2 separate regions of the Homo sapiens genome follow, and region 1 is linked to region 2. The links are contacts of gene promoters, found by promoter capture Hi-C in human tissues and cell types (Jung and others, 2019). All regions are on one chromosome and are shown on one strand. Each heading gives the region's core, a stretch centred on a gene start or on the middle of the fragment in contact. The rest is flanking DNA. Distances are from core to core; before and after follow the strand shown.

Region 1 (5,718 bases), core at 1,010-3,509, 220 kb after region 2:
GGATTACACACATGAGCCACTGTGCCCGATCCAGATTCTCTCTTAACGTGTCTCTCCATCTGTCGTTTTTGCCTTCTTCTTCCGCCCTCCTTTCTTTCTCCTTTCTCCCTCCCCACATTCCTTCCTTCCTTCCCTTCTTTCCTTCCCTCCTCCTTATCCAGTCCAAAACAGAAATCTCACATTCATTAGGAAATCCTCTTGGCTCTAGCTTCAACATCCATCCCAAATCTGACCATCTCTTCTCCAGCACACTACCTTCCAATGCCCCACCACCTCTCACCCAGAGTACTGCAGTCACCTCCTCAATGATCTTCCTGCTTCTACTCTCAACCCCTAAGGGTATATTTTCAGGCTGGGCACAGTGTCTCATTCCTATAATCCCAGCACTTTGGGAGGCCGAGGCAGGTGGATCAGTTGAGGCCAGGAGTTCAAGACCAGCCTGGTCAACATGGCGAAACCCCGTCTCTGCTAAAAATCAAAAATTAGCCAGGCATGATGGTGCACACCTGTAATCCCAGCTACCTGGGAGGCTGAGGCACAAGAATCTTTGAGCCTGGGAGGCGCAGGTTGCAGTGAGCCAAGAAGGCGCCACTGCACTCCATCCTGAGCAACAGAGGGAGACTGTCTCAAAAAAAAAAAAAGTATATTTTATTTTCTTTCTCTCTTTTTTTTTTTTTGAGATGGAGTCTCACTCAGTCTCCCAGGCTGGAATGCAGTAGCATGATCTCGGCCCACTGCAACCTCCATCTCCCAGGTTCAAGCAAGTCTCCTGCCTCAGGCTCCCGAGTAACTGGGATTCCGGGTGACCGCTATCACGCCTGGCTAATTTTTGTATTTTTAGTAGAGATGGGGTTTTGCCATGTTGACCAGGCTGGTCTCAAACTCCTGACCTCAAGTGATCCACCTGCCTCGGCCTCCCAAAGTGTTGGGATTACAGGTGTGAGCCACTGTGCCCAGCCAAGAGTATATTTTCAAAACCCAACAAAAGTGATCCCATTAAAACACAAGCCAGCTCATCTCCCTCCTCTGCTCAGAGCCCTCCTGTGGTCACTGTCTCACTCTGACTAAAAGCCAAAATCCTCATCTCAGCCCACAAGGCCCCACACAATCTGCCTCTCACCCAAGTCTGGCTCTTTTCCCACCCTCTCCCGTTTGCTCAGTCTTCTCCAGCCACTTTGGCCTCTAAGCTGTTCCCCGAACACTTCTGGAACATTCTGGCCTCGAGGCCTTTGCACTCACCCTTCCGGCTCCTTGGACAGCTCTTGGACCAGATACTCACATGGCCTACTCTGCCACTTCTTGCAAGCCTTTGCTCAAAGGCCGCCACCTCCCCGAGGCCTTCCCACCCACATATTCCTGATCCCTCCAACCCATCTCTACTTTTCTTACCTCCTTAGCACTTACCACCATCTAACATGCCACATGGCTGAGTTGTTTATTATGTCTCTGGTTGCAATGGTCAGTTTCACATGTCAGCTTGTCTAGACCGCTGTCCCCAGTCATTCAGTCAAATATGAATCCAGCTGCTGCTGTGAAGATATCTCATAGATGTGATTAAAGACTATAATTAGTTTACCTTAAGGAAGGAAATTTATCCTAGATAATCTGAGGGGGCGGTGGCTCATACCTGTAATCCCAGCACTTTCGGAGGCTAAGGCAGGTGGATCCCCTGAAGTCAGGAGTTCAAGACCAGACTGGCCAACATAGTGAAACCCTGTCTCTACTAAAAATACAAAAATCAGCCAGGCATGGTAGCATGCACCTATAGTCCCAGCTACTCGGAAGGCTGAGGCAGGAGAGTCACCTGAACCCGGGAGGTGGAGGTTGCAGTGAGCCAAGATCGCACCACTGCACTCCAGCCTGGGTGACAGAGTGAGACTCTGTCTCGAGTAATAATAATAATAATAGGCCAGTGCAGTGGCTCACGCCTGTAATCCCAACACTTTGGGAGGCCGAGGCAGGCGGATCATCTGAGGTCAGGAGTTCGAGACCAGCCTGACCAACATGGTGAAACCCCGTCTCTACTAAAAATACAAAAAAATTAGCTGGGCATGGTGGTGGGCGCCTGTAGTCCCAGCTACTCGGGAGGCTGAGGCAGGAGAATTGCTTGAACTGGGGCAGCGGAGGTTGGCAGTGAGCTGAAATCGTGCCACTGAACTCCAACCTGGGCGACAGAGCAAGACTCCGTCTCTATAAATAATAATAATAATCTAAGTGGGCCTGCTGCAATCAGTCAAAAGGTTTTCAGAGCAGAGCCGAAGCTTCCCTGAGGAAATTCCGCCTGTAGACAGTGGCTTCAGTTCACGCCCAAAGCTCCAGCCTGCACTTTCCGATGGTGCCCTGTGTATGGATTTTGAAGTTGCTTAGCCGGCCCTACAATCCTGTAAGCCAATTCCTTGCAACAGATCACTTCATACATACCCCCTACTGGCTCTGTTCCTCCGTGTTATCCCTGATTGAAGTGAGCTACTTCCTGTCCATCCACCATCCCCAGCTAGAAAGGAAGCTCTGAGAGTGGAGTTCAGTATTTTATTCACTGCTGTATCCCAGGTGCCTACGGCCAGCACTTTTTTTTTTCTTTTTTTTTGAGACAGAGTTTCGCTCTTGTTGCCGGGCTAGAGTGCAGTGGCACCATCTCAGCTCACTGCAACCTCCGCTCTGGTTCAAGCGATTCTCCTGCCTCCACCTCCCAAGTAGCTGGGATTATAGGCGTGCACCACCACACCCGGCTAATTGTGTATTTTTCGTAGAGACGGGGGTTCACCATGTTGGCCAGGCTGGTCTCGAACTCCTGACCTCATCATCCACCCGCCTCAGCCTTCCAAAGTGCTGGGATTACAGGCATGAGCCACCATACCTGGCCCCTTCTTTTTTTTTAAGACAGGGTATCAGCCAGTGCAGTGGCTCGCACCTGTAATCCCAGCATTTTGGGAGGCTGAGGCAGTAGGATCACTTGAGCCCAGGAGTTCAAAACCAGCCTGGGTGATGTAGCAGGACCTCATCTCTATCTTTTAAATTAAAAAAAAAAAAAGAAGAAAAGAAAAGACAGAGTCTCGCTCTGTCGTCCAGGCTGGAGTGCAGTGGCAAGATAATAGCTCGCTGCAGCCTGAACTCCTGGCCTCAAGCAATCCTCCTACCTCAGCCTCCCAAAGTGCTGGGATTACAGGCATGAGCAACCAGGCCCAGCCCTAGGGCAGCACTTGATATGCTTGTTGCATCCATTTCTTTTAGCATTAAAACAACACAAAACAAAACAAAAATTTAGCTTCCACTCCGCCTCTGCCTCCAGCCCTCTTCCACATACCTGATGGGTTCCTGGATGCTCTTCCTCATTCCCCAAACCTCCCCAGGCCTTTCATACCCACCACATCCCAAACCACTTCAGCATCTTACCCCCACATCTGCTACCCCTCAAGTCCCCATCTTGGCCGGCCCTACCATGTAATGTACCCTGTCTCCAGGGCCAGAGATCTAGGCTTTTTCCCTCACCCCTCACAGCCCATCAGGTTCCAAGTCCTGTCCATTCTTCCTCCTAAATATCTCTCCTTGCAACTTCCTAAGTATTTTCCTGGACTCACTAATGGGTCAAGATTCACAGTTTTGGCTGGACTCAGTGGCTCACGCCTGTAATCCCAACACTCTTGGAGGCTGAGGCCTCACAGAGGATTGCTCAAGCCCAGGAATTTGGGACCAGCCTAGGCAACACAGTGGGATCTTGTCTCTACAAAAAATTTTAAAACTTAGCCGGGCATGATGGTGTGTGCCTGTAGTTCCAGCTACTCTAGAGGCTGAGGTGGGAGGGTGAGCCTGGAAGTTTGAGTCATGATTGCATGATTGTACCACTGCACTCCAGTCTGGGTCATAGAGCAAGTCTCTGTCTCAAAAAAAAAAAAAAAAAAGGACTCACAACTCACAGTTTTGAAAATGTGGCCCTTCGCCAGGCACAGTGGCTCATGCCTATAATCCTAGCACTTTGGGAGGACAAGGCAGGTGGATCATCTGAGGTCAGGTGTTTGAGACCAGCCTGGCCAACACGGGTGAAATCCCATCTCTACTAAAAAAAAAACAAAAATTAGCCAAGTGTGGTGGCGTGCCCCTGTAGTCCCAGGTACTCAGGAGGCTGAGACAGGAGAATCGCTTGAACCAGGGAGGCAGAGGTTGCTGTGAGCCGAGATCGCACCATTGCTCTCCAGCCTGGGCGACAAGAGCAAAACTCCATCAAGAAAAGAAAAGAGGCAAGACAAGAAAGAAAATGTGGCCCTAGAAAGCCTTCCCTGACCCACCCTCACCCCAGGAGTCTTGCCCTCTGACTTCCTGCATCCAGCTTCCAGCTACCCACATCTGTGGAGCTCCATACCCCACTGCTGTGGCTCTCCACCTCCCACCGCCTCGTGAACCCAGAGCCAGGTTTAGACTCAACTCTCTGCCTGGACTGCCATGGAGGCAGCAGCTCCCTGAATGCAGCTCCCCGAATGCCTTCCCGGGGTCCCCAGTGCATTTGTTTCCTGTGGCTGCCATGACAAGGTACCGCAAACTGGGTGGTTTAAAACGAGAAACGTGGCTAGGCACGGTGGCTCACACCTGTAATCCTAGCACTTTGGGAGGCCGAGACAGGCGGATCACCTGAGGTAAGGAGTTCAAGACCAGCCTGGCCAACACTGTGAAACCCCGTCTCTACTAAAAATACAAAAATTAGCTGGGCATGGTGGCATGCGCCTGTAATCCCAGTTACCCGGGAGACTGAGGCAGGAGAATCACTGGAATCCGGGAGGCAGAGGCTGCAGCGAGCCGAGATCGTGCCACTGTACTCCAGCCTGGGCAACAGAGCAAGACTCCATTTCAAAAAAAAAAAAAAAACAGAGAGAGAGAAACGTATTGTCTCCCAGATTCACCAGGCTGAAAATCCGAAATCAAGGCATGGGCGTGGCCTCACTCCGGACAAGGCTCCAGCGGGTGATCTTTCCTGGCTTCTTCCAGCTTCTGATAGCACAGGGCCTTCCTGGGCTTGTGGCTGCGTCACCCCCGTCTCCACTTCTGTCACCATAGAATTGTCTTCCCTGTGTGTCTCCTCTTCTTATAAAGACACCGGGAATGAGGAATGACGGGTCCACCCTACACTGGTATGGCTACCTCTCAACGAATTCCCTCTCCAAGGACCCTATTTCCAAATAAGGTCACATTCTGAAGCACTGGGGGATCAGGACTTCAGCCTCTCTTTTTGGGGGAAACAGTTCAACCTGTTGGTCACTTTACACTCACGTATCTTTTTTTGATTGTGTTTTTTTTGTTGTTGTTCTTATTTTTTTAATTTAATTTTTTTTTGAGGCAGAGTCTCACGCTGTCCCCCAGGCTGGAATGCAGTGGCGCAGTCTCAGCTCACTGCAAGCTCAGCCTCCCGGGTTCATGCCATTCTCCTGCCTCAGCCTCCCGAGTAGCTGGGACTTCAGGCGCCTGCCACCACTCCCGGCTAATTTTTTGTATTTTTAGTAGAGACGGGGTTTCACCATGTTAGTCAGGATGGTCTCAATCTCCTGACCTCGTGATCCACCTGCCTCGGCCTCCCAAAGTGCTGGGATTACAGGAATGAGCCACTGCGCCCGGCCTTTTTTTTAATTTTTTTGAGACAGAGTCTCACTCTGTCGCCCAGGCTGGAGTGCAGTGGTGAGATCTCGGTTCCCTGCAATCTGTGCCTCCTAGGCTCAAGAGATTCTCCTGCCT
Region 2 (5,193 bases), core at 1,168-3,667:
CTATTTTGCAGCTTTCTTAAGAAAGCACAGTTGAGGAGAGAAAATACGAAAAGCTTGACACACTCCAGCTACTGTGCTGGGAGCTTTTCAAGTGTGTCTTCATCTGATCCTCATAAATATACTAAGTTTCAAATTGGAATGACTCTCCTCCACTCAGAGATGTACATATATATTCTACATTCCCATACCCTTGAACTAGTGATGCATCGTATCATCAATAGGGTCTTGCAATAGCTATCAGACAAGCAGAGTGACATAGCTGCTGCCAGTTGTACAGGGACGAACTAAGTCTTCAGGTTAATATTCTTGACACTTCAATTAAGTTGTGTGGATTGCTTATGTTTCATGTGTTGAGTGTAACTGTCATTTTAAATATCAGAAAACACCATGATTTGGCTTGTGTGTTGTGTGTGCAGAATGACACATTAATAGAAGACGATGACGTAAATTTACTGTTAATGAAGCACATGCTCATTGTTTTAGGAATGAACCCAAGTACATATTTTCTTGCAGATCAACAACCAAGTGCTTTATGGGGCACAAGAAGATAAAGAGATGAAGAGTATCACATTTTGTTTCTGAGACAGGCACAGAAGGATTGCCTAGCACAAGGAAAACAACATAATGAAAGGCAGAAGGAGTTGTCAAAATCTCTAGGAATAGATGAAAGAAAATTCAAAGAAAGAAGGGGCTAGTGTCACCAGTTCAATGATAACTTGCAGTATGGGTGTCAGCAGCTTAGAATAAAACCAAACTTTGCATGACCAATGCTGTTGGTAGAACTGAGAATGATGTTGTGTAAGAAAGCACAGGAACCAATCTGGGGTTGAAAGATGATTCACAGGAGGCAGTCTCCAAATGTGGAGACATTTTAAGAAATCTTTAACAGATTTATTTCCCATATATTTTTATTTTTCTATTCGCCTTCCAAAAGTCTACGTCTCAACATGTTGCAAGAAGCTCTGTTAATAAACATTCTAAGTGATGAGATTGCATCTTAGAGTTGCAAAACAACAGTGTATCTTTCAATAACATCTTAGTGTTAATGAGATACAACATAAGGATTTCTCTAAATGATTATCATTATAAAATGCATTAAAAATTATCCCTTCAAGCTGCCCCTTGCCACTTCTGTAAGATGAAAAATTAAGTACACATTAACTTCCCAATGCCCAATAGTAAAGCTGAAGTTTCATTTGGAATAAGAATGATAATTGTATATTAAAGATATTATTATTTGTCCTTTGTATTTTACCTAATCAAACTCAAACGTTTCTTTTTAACATTTGGTAGTAAACAAGCTGACAGCCTGGGCTCACTAGGAATCTTCACATTGTTGGCCTTCTTAGGTTCCGGGGTAGGGGAGAGCAGCCTTGTGCATCCAAACCACACCCCACACCTCCGCACATGTACAGGAAGCTAAGAATGAAGCTCAGAAAAGGAGAACCATTTCAAAGGCTATGGTACAGGCTGGATGAACTTAAGTCAGCAACTCTTCCCTATGCTGTGCCAGCAAGTGGAGGATGGAAAGTCTGGCCAATCCTTAGACATTTTCTGATTGAATCATCACACATCCATGAAGACTGAGGTCCTTTCCACAGCTTCGGGATTATTTGAATTTGTCCAAGCCCTTCCCTAGCTGGCACTTGCCTGGCAGGCCTCAGTTTGCCCTGCCCTTCCCTCTGTCTGCACACCTAAGTACTACACACTCCTAAGTACTACATCACTTATCATTGGCCACTAATATAATATGATTATGAAAAGCAGGTGTTTAGTACTTTCCCTGACCATGTAACTAAGATGCTGGAGGTCTCTGAATCCTCACACCAAGCACACCAGGAGATTTGGGCCATTGCTATTCTCCACCCCTACCCCCTTTATTGGAGTTTCCAGAGCCGTGGCTCAACTGCTAGAGCAGGTGGCAACTCTAATGACTCCAGAGCAAAAAATAAAGTGGCTTCATAAACGGTCCCCTTGACATTTCCAGAGACATCGTGCTTGGGGAATATAGAAGAAGCAAGTATTAGGAAGGGGAGGATGTGAAACCAGATGGGGAAGTGGCTGAAGCATTCTCTCTGATTGGAGCTTAGTTGGGCACTGTCTCCTCAATGTCGGAGCTTGAAAACTCTTAGAAGCCTAACTTGGAGTAGGACCAACCTACACTCATTCACCCTGAGGTCTGCAATAGTATATGGAGAATGCAATGAGTCAGTCTGCAACATTCGGCTCTGTGGTCCCTTACGCCACCCAGTCTCCTCCTTAAAGAAACTAATGAATGTGCTTGGGAGACTTTGGTTATCTTCAAGGAATGTGCTTGGGAGACTGCAGGTGGCATGATCAGCAGCCATCCAATCAGTAAACTTACCAGGTTAACAGACAACCCCATTTAGGCTGTCTCCATAAGTTCCAGCCTTTTACCACTCTTCTTCAATTCTCCTAGAGCATCTTTGGAAGCATGAGGCCACGATGCTGCATCTTGGGCAAGTAGGACCCCAAATCCAAACATCATCTCATCTCATTCCCAGTGCAGCTCCCAAACCTCAACCCGATTTATTCCTCTTTATCTCTAACATTATTCCAGCCTCCTGTGCCCTACTAGTCACCTCAAAGGGTGACTGAGCGTGCTGCTCAGGGCCTGCCTGAACGGGATCCCATACAGACTTAGCCCCAAGTGATAATCTCCACCTTTAAACCACCCTAACCTCTGTTTGTTTGTTTGTTTGTTTTTTCCATACTTGTCACATTCTCAGCTCCATGTTCAACCTTTTTCCTTTCTCCCTTAGCTCTTGTCTGCTGGATAACAGTCTTCCTCCTCCAGTGTTCAAAAGGAACTACAGGTAAGGACAGGACAGGGAAAAATGAGGAGGGAAGAGGTGGTGTTGGGAAAAGAGACTGGGAATTGAGTATCTGTTCTTCCTTGGATGTACACCATCAATGTCTGCCCCCAGACGCTCCTGTTGGCTCAGGACTGTGGCTGTGCCAGCCGACACCCAGGTGTGGGAACAAGATCTACAACCCTTCAGAGCAGTGCTGTTATGATGATGCCATCTTATCCTTAAAGGAGACCCGCCGCTGTGGCTCCACCTGCACCTTCTGGCCCTGCTTTGAGCTCTGCTGTCCCGAGTCTTTTGGCCCCCAGCAGAAGTTTCTTGTGAAGTTGAGGGTTCTGGGTATGAAGTCTCAGTGTCACTTATCTCCCATCTCCCGGAGCTGTACCAGGTAAAGGTCCCTACCTTGCTCTTAACTAAAGGAATGAGGGAGGGATGAGGGATACAGAGGGCTTGAAGAGGAACTCCTGTTTGTGGAGTTCTAACGGCAAAAGAGTCAGGCTGGTGGCAGCAGGGGAAAGCAAAAAGAAGAAGCAGATAAGCTATAAGTCTGCCTTTCTTCATGGTCGAGGACAAACAGTCCTCCTGCATAAATAACTCACAATCTTCTTGCACCCAGCTATCACCAGACACTCAGCTGGTAGAAAAATGCAAGCAGTGCAGTTGCCTTCCTGATGTAAAAAAACATGCTAAATAATCCAGTGTCAGGAAGACAAAGATGTTTTGCTTCTCTGAAGAAGCTTATAATAATATACAGTATATGTATATGCAGGGAACAATTGGTCAAAAGTGGCTTTTTTGTTTCCCCAAGGGGAAAGACTGGCTTTGTAATTATAATTTTTTCCTTACTTTACTTAAAACTGGTAGAGTCTAAGTATTGTATGAAGTGTCCATGATTCTGTCAGTAAATTTGAGCATATTTTTATTAGTTAATGTCAGTTTAAGTAGTCCTTTTGTTTCTATTTTTAAGATGAATTTTAAATTCTATCTGAAATCAGTAAGATACCTGGAGAAAAACTGCAGTGAGAGGAGGTCAGTATCCTTTTTCAGGAGGAACTGATATCTCTGGCTAAATATCTGTCCTTTTATTATGGTTTCTAAATCGGTTATTTTCTTCAGCTTTAAGTTCATAAAATTAAAAAAACTATTAAAAAATTCCTGTAGCTGTTGGAATAATTAAAAATTCTGGTGCAGTGGTGGTATACCAATCTTTAGAATTCTTAAGTAATCTAATGTTTCAAGTTGAGGTCATGCTTGGGAAAATCATGTCATAGCATTTACATTATTTTCAAATGTCATTTTTTTTACCCTGGAAAGAAGTAATAATGTTCATCATAACCCTAGCAGTCTGGATAGTGAGCTAAACAAACCCTTGGAAGATTACATTTTAATCAAGTAGACTAGGAATACAAAAAACAAGTCCTTCCTCCCCTTCCTCCCACCTTTACAATCTTACTGGAAGGGTGTTCAGAAATTAAAATTTGTGTTTGCTAAGACTTTATTCTGTTGGGGGTTTTAAGAGGTAATACGTGTAATGTAAAATGTATGTAAACCATTGCAGTTTTTTGGGGCATTTTTCCATGCAACAGTAAGTTGTCTGACAGTAACCGAATGTAACTTACAGAAAGTAATTAAAAGTTATATTCAGAATAACAGCAATCAGGCCTTGGATGTTCTTTATTAAACTCTTTTCAGGCAGTAAACTTTACCAAAAAAATCTGTCATTTTCTAAAGTCCTTGTGCTAAAACTGTTGACTATGGAAAACAAACAACAAAAAGGAATGTTTTTAGTCTGCTGCTATTATTAACATTTATTATCTGTATCTTTTGGCTCAGGAAATGACTTCACCTATTTGTTCCATAAGCTGATCTTTAACAGGGTCAGCTAGCTAACTAGGCTGTGTAAACAGATGTGCTGGGAGAAAATTATAATATTTAGTATTTGTCCTAAATATCAAAAATATTTTGACAAGTTTCTTTTTAAGATAGTTTCTAAAACCTTACCCTGGCTAAAGATGTTTTGTGCAAATTATATATAGCCTGCCTGATCTACCAACATGGCACAGAGAATCACAATCAACAATGTGGGGAAAGTCAGGGCAATGGAAGTGGATGTACACTTTTTATTTTGAGGGCTTCAACCAAATTGTCTTGGAATTAAAGGTGTATTTCTGCAGCTTTCAGTACAGAGAAAAAGAAGAAAGTGAAGCTGTGTCAGTTTTAACATTAGCTATATCACAGCATGTTTTAAAAAGATAGATGAAGTCATTTGCATAAAGGTACAGCATTGAAATACTATGTTGTGTTTGTTTTTACATTTTTACATTTTAAAAATGCAGTAAAAGCCAAGTTAAATTTCATTAAA

The links. The method cuts DNA at HindIII sites, captures the fragments that hold promoters and counts their contacts. A contact is called where the count stands out against the background at its distance.
Region 1: a fragment that was not itself captured here is called in contact with the fragment with the promoter of IGFL3 in region 2 in 2 of the 25 tissues and cell types used here (hippocampus and mesenchymal stem cells).

What each region holds. Positions count from the first base shown.
Region 1 is chr19:45,904,515-45,910,232 of GRCh38, reverse strand. No RefSeq gene overlaps it. Among named protein-coding and RNA genes, the nearest start is that of MYPOP, 4.8 kb to the right of the region's middle. The HindIII fragment of the contact is 7,651 bases long and covers 1-5,718 here.
Region 2 is chr19:46,121,912-46,127,104 of GRCh38, reverse strand. It overlaps IGFL3 (IGF like family member 3), which reads left to right and starts at 2,417. Exons shown (of 4, transcript NM_207393.2): 1 at 2,417-2,480; 2 at 2,784-2,837; 3 at 2,949-3,219. The coding sequence starts at 2,456. It also overlaps a transcript of IGFL2 not described here. The HindIII fragment of the contact is 6,445 bases long and covers 1-5,193 here.